Linked DNA regions of Homo sapiens: region 2 is linked to region 1. The links are contacts of gene promoters, found by promoter capture Hi-C in blood cells and fetal thymus (Javierre and others, 2016). All regions are on one chromosome and are shown on one strand. Each heading gives the region's core, a stretch centred on a gene start or on the middle of the fragment in contact. The rest is flanking DNA. Distances are from core to core; before and after follow the strand shown.

What was found. The method cuts DNA at HindIII sites, captures the fragments that hold promoters and counts their contacts. A CHiCAGO score of 5 or more calls a contact.
Region 2: a contact is called between the fragment with the promoter of MPHOSPH9 here and the fragment with the promoter of MLXIP in region 1, in 1 of 17 cell types (erythroblasts). The highest score is 5.2, in erythroblasts.

The regions. Positions count from the first base shown.
Region 1 is chr12:122,076,372-122,080,474 of GRCh38, reverse strand. It overlaps MLXIP (MLX interacting protein), which reads right to left and starts at 1,719. Exons shown (of 17, transcript NM_014938.6): 1 at 1,209-1,719. The coding sequence starts at 1,621. RefSeq lists enhancers at 1,137-1,376, 3,444-3,493 and silencers at 1,437-1,886, 1,897-2,176. The HindIII fragment of the contact is 7,442 bases long and covers 207-4,103 here.
Region 2 is chr12:123,231,059-123,235,161 of GRCh38, reverse strand. MPHOSPH9 (M-phase phosphoprotein 9) reads left to right here and starts at 2,021. Exons shown (of 24, transcript NM_022782.4): 1 at 2,021-2,087. MTRFR (mitochondrial translation release factor in rescue) reads right to left here and starts at 1,726. Exons shown (of 3, transcript NM_152269.5): 1 at 1,631-1,726. RefSeq lists an enhancer at 2,009-2,248. The HindIII fragment of the contact is 1,460 bases long and covers 1,803-3,262 here.

The DNA.
Region 1 (4,103 bases), core at 470-2,969:
ATTTTAACTTCAGGTAAAAGCATAACATTTAAACCTGGATATGCTTGGGGCTCACAGCTCTCTTAAAAAGGTGAGGTGAGAGGGGGCAAGATATTCCTGCTCTTTTATTACGCTGTTTATGGAGTCTCCTAGGAAACTTCTCCCGCGATGCCTCCAGAGCAGACCTAAGACAGCCCCCGCTAGTCCAGTTCCTAATGCAATAAGCTTAACTCAGCAGAGATCCCATCATGAGCTTTCTGCAGGGCCAAGCTGCTCAAGGCCGCTGCTGCCAGTCCAAAGAAGTTCTGTTGCGCAGACAAAAAAGTTACCTGCAGCAAATACCTAATATTCATAGTGGGAAAGGGAGAGAGAGTGAAAAAGCGCTTTAATCTTTGAGGGCCAGGCATTTTCTGTGACTTGGAAAAGAGGAATCTCTGCCCAGAGCCGAATCCACATGTCAGAACGGTGTCTGGGATGTCTGCCCTCAACAATGACATCTCCCTCATATAATGTTTCAGGACCGGCCAGAAAACCCTCCAACTTGCCAGAAGGACAGACTGCACCTCCAACAGCTGTGGCACCAAAAGTCTTCTTAGGAGGCACCCAAAGCCCTCCCGAGATGGGGGCGGGCCTCCCGATGAGGTTGTAAGGGGGCCAGCCTCCAGGTGCAGGGACACCTAACTCTGGCCAAGCACTGGAATAAGCAATTTACCTATCTCACTCCATCCCCACAACAGCCCCTTGGAGGCAGACACTACAGTCATTCCCCTTTTATAAAGGAGGAAACAGGCTCCGAGGTGTTACACAACCATTAAACAGCAGAGCCAGCCTCCAGTCACCCCGAACAGGTGGTCCTGACCGCTGCTGGATATGGGGGAAACACACAAAGCGTTTGGAGGAAGGAGTCGATAGAGTCGGGTAACACAAGATGCAGCCAGTGTTTATACCTCTTCCTCGTCCAACATCGGTGGTCCCAGGACACTGGAGGGGAGGGCCTGGATGGGGAACGTGAACCCGAAAGGACCCCGGCACTGCTGGCAGGGGAAGAGGCCAGGACCCCGGCTCCTCTGGCAACGCGGGGAACCCCAGATCCATAAACCCTCCCGAAGGAGGAAGACCCAAAGGGAATGCATGAAGCCACGGGGTTGCCAGGCGGCCCTTCCCTCCACGCTTGTTTTGTCAAACAAGGGCCTCCGGCCGGGGCCTCAGGGGGTCGCGGGGGTCCCTACCTGTAGGCCAAAGTCATGCACTCGAAGAGCTTGGTGAGCGAGGCGTCGATGGACAGGTGGCAGGAGCTAGTCTTGCCGAAGCTGTAGGTCTGGCACGTCTGTTTGTTGACCGTGTCGAAATCGTAGCCCTTCTTGGGCGGGTGCTCTCGGTGCGGCGACGACACCATGAAGTGGCCGCTGTGGATGATCTGCTGGCGGCGCGGAGGTTCCTCGCGGCCCGGCCCGGCCCGAGGCGGCGGTGGCGCGGCGCTCGCGTGGGCCCGGGCCGGGGTGGCCGCGCCGGAGGCGGGCGGCGGGGACGGCTCATCCGTGTCCGAGTCGTCGTCGTCCTCGGACACCTGGGGCTTGAGCAGCACCTGGCGGCCCCGGCTGCGAGGCCGGCGCGGGGAGCACATGAAGACGTCGGCGGCCATGAGAAGGGCTCGGCCGGGGGCATCCCCCGGAGCCCGGGGCAACGCGACAAGCGCGCGAGGCAGAGGGGCGCCGGCCCGGCCCGGCCCGCGCGCCGACTGTCCGCGAGCGCGCGGCGCGGCGGGAGGGGGAGGGCTCCGGCCCCGGCGTGACGTCACCGAGGCGTCTGGGCCAATCGGCTGCCCGCGTCGGCCTCTTAAAGGCGCAGGGGAACCTTTCCTTAGCTAGGCGGACCAAAAAAAAAAAAAAAGGGGAAGCGGAGGCCACGCCTCCCGGCCGTGCCCCTCGCCACCTCCTCCTCTCCCGGCGTCCGTGGGTGCTGAGGGACACGGTGGCCGGGCGGAGCGGCTCGCCGGTGTCGCGACCTGGGAGAGGCGTCGGCAGAGTGGGGCCGTGCTAGTCCCGCCCCCGCCCCGCTCCGCGCCCCGGGAGTCGCCCTGTGGCTTCGCCGCAGGCCCGGCCGGCTCCACGTGGTGGGTGCGGGTGGGGCTCCTCGGCCTCCAGGCCCTGCTTTTTCCCTGCCGGGCGGTACCGAGTCCTCGCAGCTCACGCCTGAGTTTGCCGGACGTGGTGGCTATTGTCCTCATTATTCTCATCGTATTGATGGGAACACTGGGTGGCTGAATACCGACAGGATTTTTCTCAGACCTGGAGTCCACAGAGCTGGGAACTTGCTTCCCCTGCGCGTCCCCAGCTCGGCGCAGCTGTTGAGTGGCAGCGCCCCTGAGCCCAGCGACCTCCAGACCCCAGCTCTTTTAACTTCAACTCAGCATGCTGTTGTTATTTTTTTAAAGTTTGACGGACGAGCCAGCCCCCGAAACAATTCTAAAAGGGGAGTATCTGAGCCAGAGTTTTCTTCTCTGTCAAATGGTGAACAATTCCGTTTCCTCAGAAACTTGGGACAGTTTAAAAATGGCTATAGTGGGGCGCGGTGGCTCATGCCTGTAATCCTAGCACTTTTGGAGGCCGAGGCGGGTGGATCACTTGAGGCCAGAAGTTCAAGACCAGCCAGGCCAACACGGTGAAACCCTGTCTCTACTAAAAATAACAAAAATTAGCCGGTCGTAGTGGTGCACCCCTGTAATCCCAGCTACTCGGGAGGCTGAGGCAGGAGAATCGCTTGAATCCGGGAGGTGGAGGTTGCAGTGAGCCGAGATTGCGCCATTGCACTCTAGCCTGGGCGACAGAGCGAGGCCCTGTCTCAAAAAGAAAAATAAATACAAATAAAAATGGCTATAAGTTGCTTAGCAGGCAGGCTGGCACAAAATGAGCGCTAAATAAATGTGCCACAGGTTGGAGGATTTGGATCAACCAGACCAGAGGTGCCTAGAAATTGCCAATAGTCCACCACTATTTGACCTGCAGAAACGGCAACTTCGCGTGGCACAACCTAACTGACAGACACCTCTAGAAAGCTGTCAAGGTTTCCGGGGCTCAAAGCCAGTCTGGGGTGGGGGTGGCAGGGCATCAGAAGAGCCAGTGAGGCCCATGAGCCAGGAACACCCATCCTAATCCTAGCAGGGCGTCCAGAGTCCACAGCCACTCCTGCACTCTGCTTTGTTTTATTGTTGTTTTGTTTTTTGAGACAGAGTCTTGCTCTGTCACCCAAGGCTGTAGCGCAGTGGTGCAATCACCATGTTGGCCAGGCCGGTCTGGAACTCCTGACCTCAAGTGAGGCCTGCCTTGGACTCCCAAAGTGCTGGGATGACAGGCATGAGCCACCGCGCTGGCTCTGCACTCGGCTTTGAAGCTGGTTTCAGTTCCAGATTTGAGTGGGGGGTGAGTCCCCTGCCCCACCCTCTTCCTGACAAAGGCCTCCTGAAGGGAACAGAGGGCTCTCACCAAAATGGCTCCATTAACTTATTTCCAAATGTCTGTATGGAAAAATGGGCTGGATGACTGGCAGTTTTCAGGCATGAGTTCTAGATTTCCCTCTTCAACCTACTACTGTTCCCAATGCTGGTTACAAGTGTTTAAAAGTCCATCCTTTGAGTTGCCTTCCTTTCTCTCAAGACTTGTCTCCTTGGTCCTTGGTAAGTTTACATGCCCAGCCACTTTTTTTTTTTTTTTTTTTTGAGACAGGATCTGGCTCTTTCACCTGGACTGGAGTGGAGTGGTGCCATCATGGCTCACAGCACCCTCAACCTCCAGGGCTCAGGTGATCCTCCCACCTCAACTTCCCAAGTAGCAGGACCACAGGTGCACACCACCGTGCCCTGCTAATTTTTGTACTTTTTATAGAGATGGGGTCTCGCCATGCTGCCCAGCCTGGTCTCGTCTCGAGTTCCTGACCTCAAGTGATCCTCCTGCCTCAGCCTCCCAAGGTGCTAGAATTACAGGTGTGAGCCACCATGCCCTGCTTTTTTGTCTTTGTGTTTACCTATATTTTCTTTCTTTTTTTTTTTTTTTGAGACAGGGTCTCACTGTGTCACATTGGTGTGATCGTGGCTCACTGTAGCCTCAACCTCCCCTGCCCAAGCTATC
Region 2 (4,103 bases), core at 772-3,271, 1.2 Mb before region 1:
TAGTGGTCACTAAATGGGAGCATGTCAGATCTCTCAACTACAAGGCTGAGGAACTTTGGAATGACACACCACATACACTGTTGTCTTATGACACAAACCCAGTCTGGGAACTGATTATTTCATCGGCCTTTGTTTTAGAGCTTAGGGTGAAAAGGCATCTACAACAGTGGCTTGTAAATTATTTTACTTGGTATGGTCCAATTTAAGAAGTACTTGATAAGCCATGACATTACTGAAAACATGTTATTTGGTGGGATCATAATTCTGGTCTGTGAAATCAGGTACTAAGGAGATCACTGTGATGCCAAAAATATAGCCTGACTTCCCAGCAGGTTCACACTGAAAGATAAAACCATCTTCAATGAAGTAAGTCCTGGTTTAAACATAAAATATCTTTTGGAATTATGTAATATAATTTAAAAAATCATGAAAGATAGGATAACATCAAATTTACCCTTTGAAAATTGCCAGGCGTGGTGGCTCATGCCTGTAATCCCAGCACTTTGGGTGGCCGAGGCAGGAGGATGACCTGAGGTCAGGAATTCGAGACCAGCCTGGCCAATATGGCAAAACCCCGTCTCTACTAAAAATACAAAAAATTAGCCGGATGTGGTGGCGGGCACCGGTATTCCCGGCTACTCGGGAGGCTGAAGCAGAAGAATCACTTGAACCCGGGAGGCAGAGGTTAAAGTGAGCCGAGATCGCGCCACTGCCCTCCAGCCTGGGTGACAGAGAGAGACCTTGTCCCCCCTACCCCCCTCCCCCACAAAAATAAAAAAAGTAAAAAAAAATTGGTAGGTATACTTAGGAAGCTCCAATGAGATGTAACGCCTCCTGGCAGATCTGTTATTCCAAGGGCAGATCCATTTCCTGGGTTGTGGAGGCCTAAGTGATAGTGCCAGGGAAGTCCCTTTACTGTGAGCCAGAACTCCTGGAGGTAAATCGAGTAGCTGGAAAGACCTTAAAGGTTAACTATGCTGAAGAATGTGGCCTGCACAGTGCGCATGAAATGGGCTGGGGTCCCACGGGGAGGAGAGCGAGTTCCCTTTGGTCCTTCAAAAGTAGGGCTGGGTGGCTTGCGCCTGTGATCCCAGCACTTTGGGAGGCCGAGGAAGGAGGATCGCTTGAGGCCAGGAGTTCGAGATCAGCTTGGGCAACACAGTGAGACCCCCCCACCCCACGTCTATTAAAAAAAAAACGAGTATCTCCGCAAAAGCCTAGCAAGGGCAGTGCTGACCTCTACTACGTGCCAGGCCTGAAACAGCACCTGATGCGTGCTCACAGCTCCATTCCGCTCAGTTTTGTACATGAGGATCCTTCCGTTTCGCCTTGGGCCTCCGTGGAACCGTTATCTCCAGGACGGTAGTCTCTCCTCTCCCCTGCCCTGAGTGCCTGAACAGCCCCAGGGCCGACCCACAGCACCTAGCGTAAACCAGGTCCCGAGAAAACTGAGCTCGGGTGTCACGGCCGGCCCCACCCCACCGCCAGCGCGGCCTCAGGTAAACTGGCTGCGCCACTCGGGGTCGCAAGTCGGGAAAAACCCAGGCGTCCCGGCTCGCAGTCCTCTCTCCGGAGCCTTTGACAGTCGTCGGCAGCCGTAGGGTTACCTGGCTTCTCCGCAGATGCTTACCTGGTCTCAGGACCCGACTCGTGCCCTCAACGTTCTAGGGATATCCAAATCACCTCAGCGGAGGATTCGCAATCGCGATCCCTGATCTGCGCACGCGCCGTACTCCGATCGCGGTTTCTCTTATCTACCAGAGGCTCATGTTTACTCACTGCGCATGCGAGAAACTGAAGCTTCTTTCCCTCGTGGCAGCGGCTGGCTCCCAGAGAGCCAATCAGAGAAGAGAGTTTCACAGCAATCCCGCCCCCTTGTCACTCCCCCGGGGTTGGATGTCTCTCTTTGGTTGGAGCTGCGCGAGGGGGAACGGCGAGGTGGACGCGCGCGCCATGCGAGGCTGTCTCCGCCTCCTTCCGGGCAGCCAATCACTGGAGAGACGCCGGGCGCGCGCGCGCTCCCTCGGGTAACGGTCGCGAGAGGCCGCTTGCATGACCCTGACATCGGCAGCGGGAGCGGCGGCCAGGTAAGCGGCCACCAGCCTGCAGGGAGCTGTAGGCCGCTGGGGACAGGAGACGAGACTTAGGAGACACTGTCTTAGCGGCCCCTTGAGTGTGGTGATGGGCTGGGGTGTGGGGTGACGGCTGCCGATTGGCCTGACCCCCTCGGAGCCCTTCGGCGTGTGGGAGCTCTGCCCGGCCGCGGTGCGCCTTTTCTAGACTCGGCGCCCTTGAGTGACACTCGCGCGGCCCAATCGCAGATCGCTCTTCCTGAGGGGCGGGGGGTTTGTGGGGTTTTTTTAATTTTTCCCCCCATTTTTTGCCAAGGTGCCCCGGTTTCCTTTTGGAATCGCGGTTGTAGTTGCAGGAGCGGTGGCTTTTCTCCGTCCTCCCTGCTTTCCGTAGCTTAGGCGACTGCATAGATTCTCCCTCTCCTTCCCACTTTGACCCGATAGCCGCCACCAGCCATTGCGGGCTGACTGTGAGCTCAGAATGTCGGGATCTGGCCTCATCCCCATCTGAAATCTCTTCCTCTCCCCCAAGCCTCCCGTCAAGGCGGAGCGCCCAGTTAACTTTCATGTTTCATAACCATCAATCGTTCCTTTTCCCCAGCTCCCTTTTTTTGCTAGGGGGTAGGGACACCAAAAGCGTCATATCTTGTTGCTGGGAAATATAAAAGCTCTGCTCTTATATTCATTCTGTATCAAGTTAAAAAAATTTTTTTTTGCATTGTATTTGTGGGTGTTTAAGGATTTTTCCCTCTTACTTCCCTGCCCTCCCCCCAGCACCTCCACCCCAAATGGAGAAGCATCTTTGAATTTCTAGTGGTTTTCCATCTGGATCTGCATCCGGATCCGGATTACCTTAGCAGGGGAAATAATAGATGGGGTTGCAGGTTCATCTCCCTGGAGAGCTTGTGTTTTCCTGGTGTAATAGCATGGTGATTGGAATCCAGGTATTTCTGTTGCCAGTTGGAAGGGGCAGTCCTTGACTGTTTCAATGCCCCATTTGTCGTGGGTGATGGGCTGAGCCACTGGGGAAAAGTCCATTTAGTTAGGTCCGGTTACCCTTTGCATTCACTCCTGTCCCTGAAGGAAATGGTCCCTGTTTTTGTGTAATGCTTTATAAAAGCAGGCCCTAGAAAGTGGGAATCTAGCAGAAGCGGAATACTAGATAATATTCCTGTTGCACTCTCTAAGCTTTTCAGTTTGTAAGCAGCTGAAGTTTTCTTTCTTTCTCCTTTTTCCTCTTGCTCCCTTGCTCTTTTATAAGTGCATGAATTCCCCAGGAAGGAGGCATCTTGTTTGACCTGTTACAGCCAATTTGCCATGGTATATATCCAGCTTCACTGAAATTTTAGTTGGCCTGGCAAATAATTTTTTTATTTTTATTTTTATTTTTTAAGAGATGGGGTCTTGGTCTGTTGCCCAAGCTGGAGTGCAGTGGCAGGATCATAGCTCACTGCAGTCTTGAACTCCTGGGCTGAAGTGATCCTCCCACCTCAGCCTCCAGAGTAGCTGGGACATGCTCCCAGTAGCTGCAGGCAGGCTCCAGTGTGCCCAGTGGTTTATTTTCTAAGAATAGCTGCACAGAGACAAAAGACCATATATATAGTTCAAAATGTACTTCCAGACAATGGGGAAGCTATGGTTGTTAACAGTTTAATTGGCTCTTTTTAATACAAATTAAATATTAAGTAGTTCAGTTCTTCTTGTCTCTGTATAAGTCAACAAACATATATACTTGGTAGAATTTATTAAACAAATGAACAAGGCATGCAAGTATTCCAATTGTTACATAATAGAATTATATCTAGAACTTTCATTGTAAAGCCTGGCAAAATGGTTTGCGCTATAATCCCAGCTGCTCGGGAGGCTGAGCACTTGAGGCCAGGAGTTGTAGACCAGCCTGGGCAACATAGCAAGATGCTGTCTCTAAAAAAAAGAACCTTGATTATTAAACATATAAAAATCTGAAATATTACCTGAAAAAGGTGATGCTACTTTTGCAAATAATCCTTAATGTAGATTTTTAATTGAGAT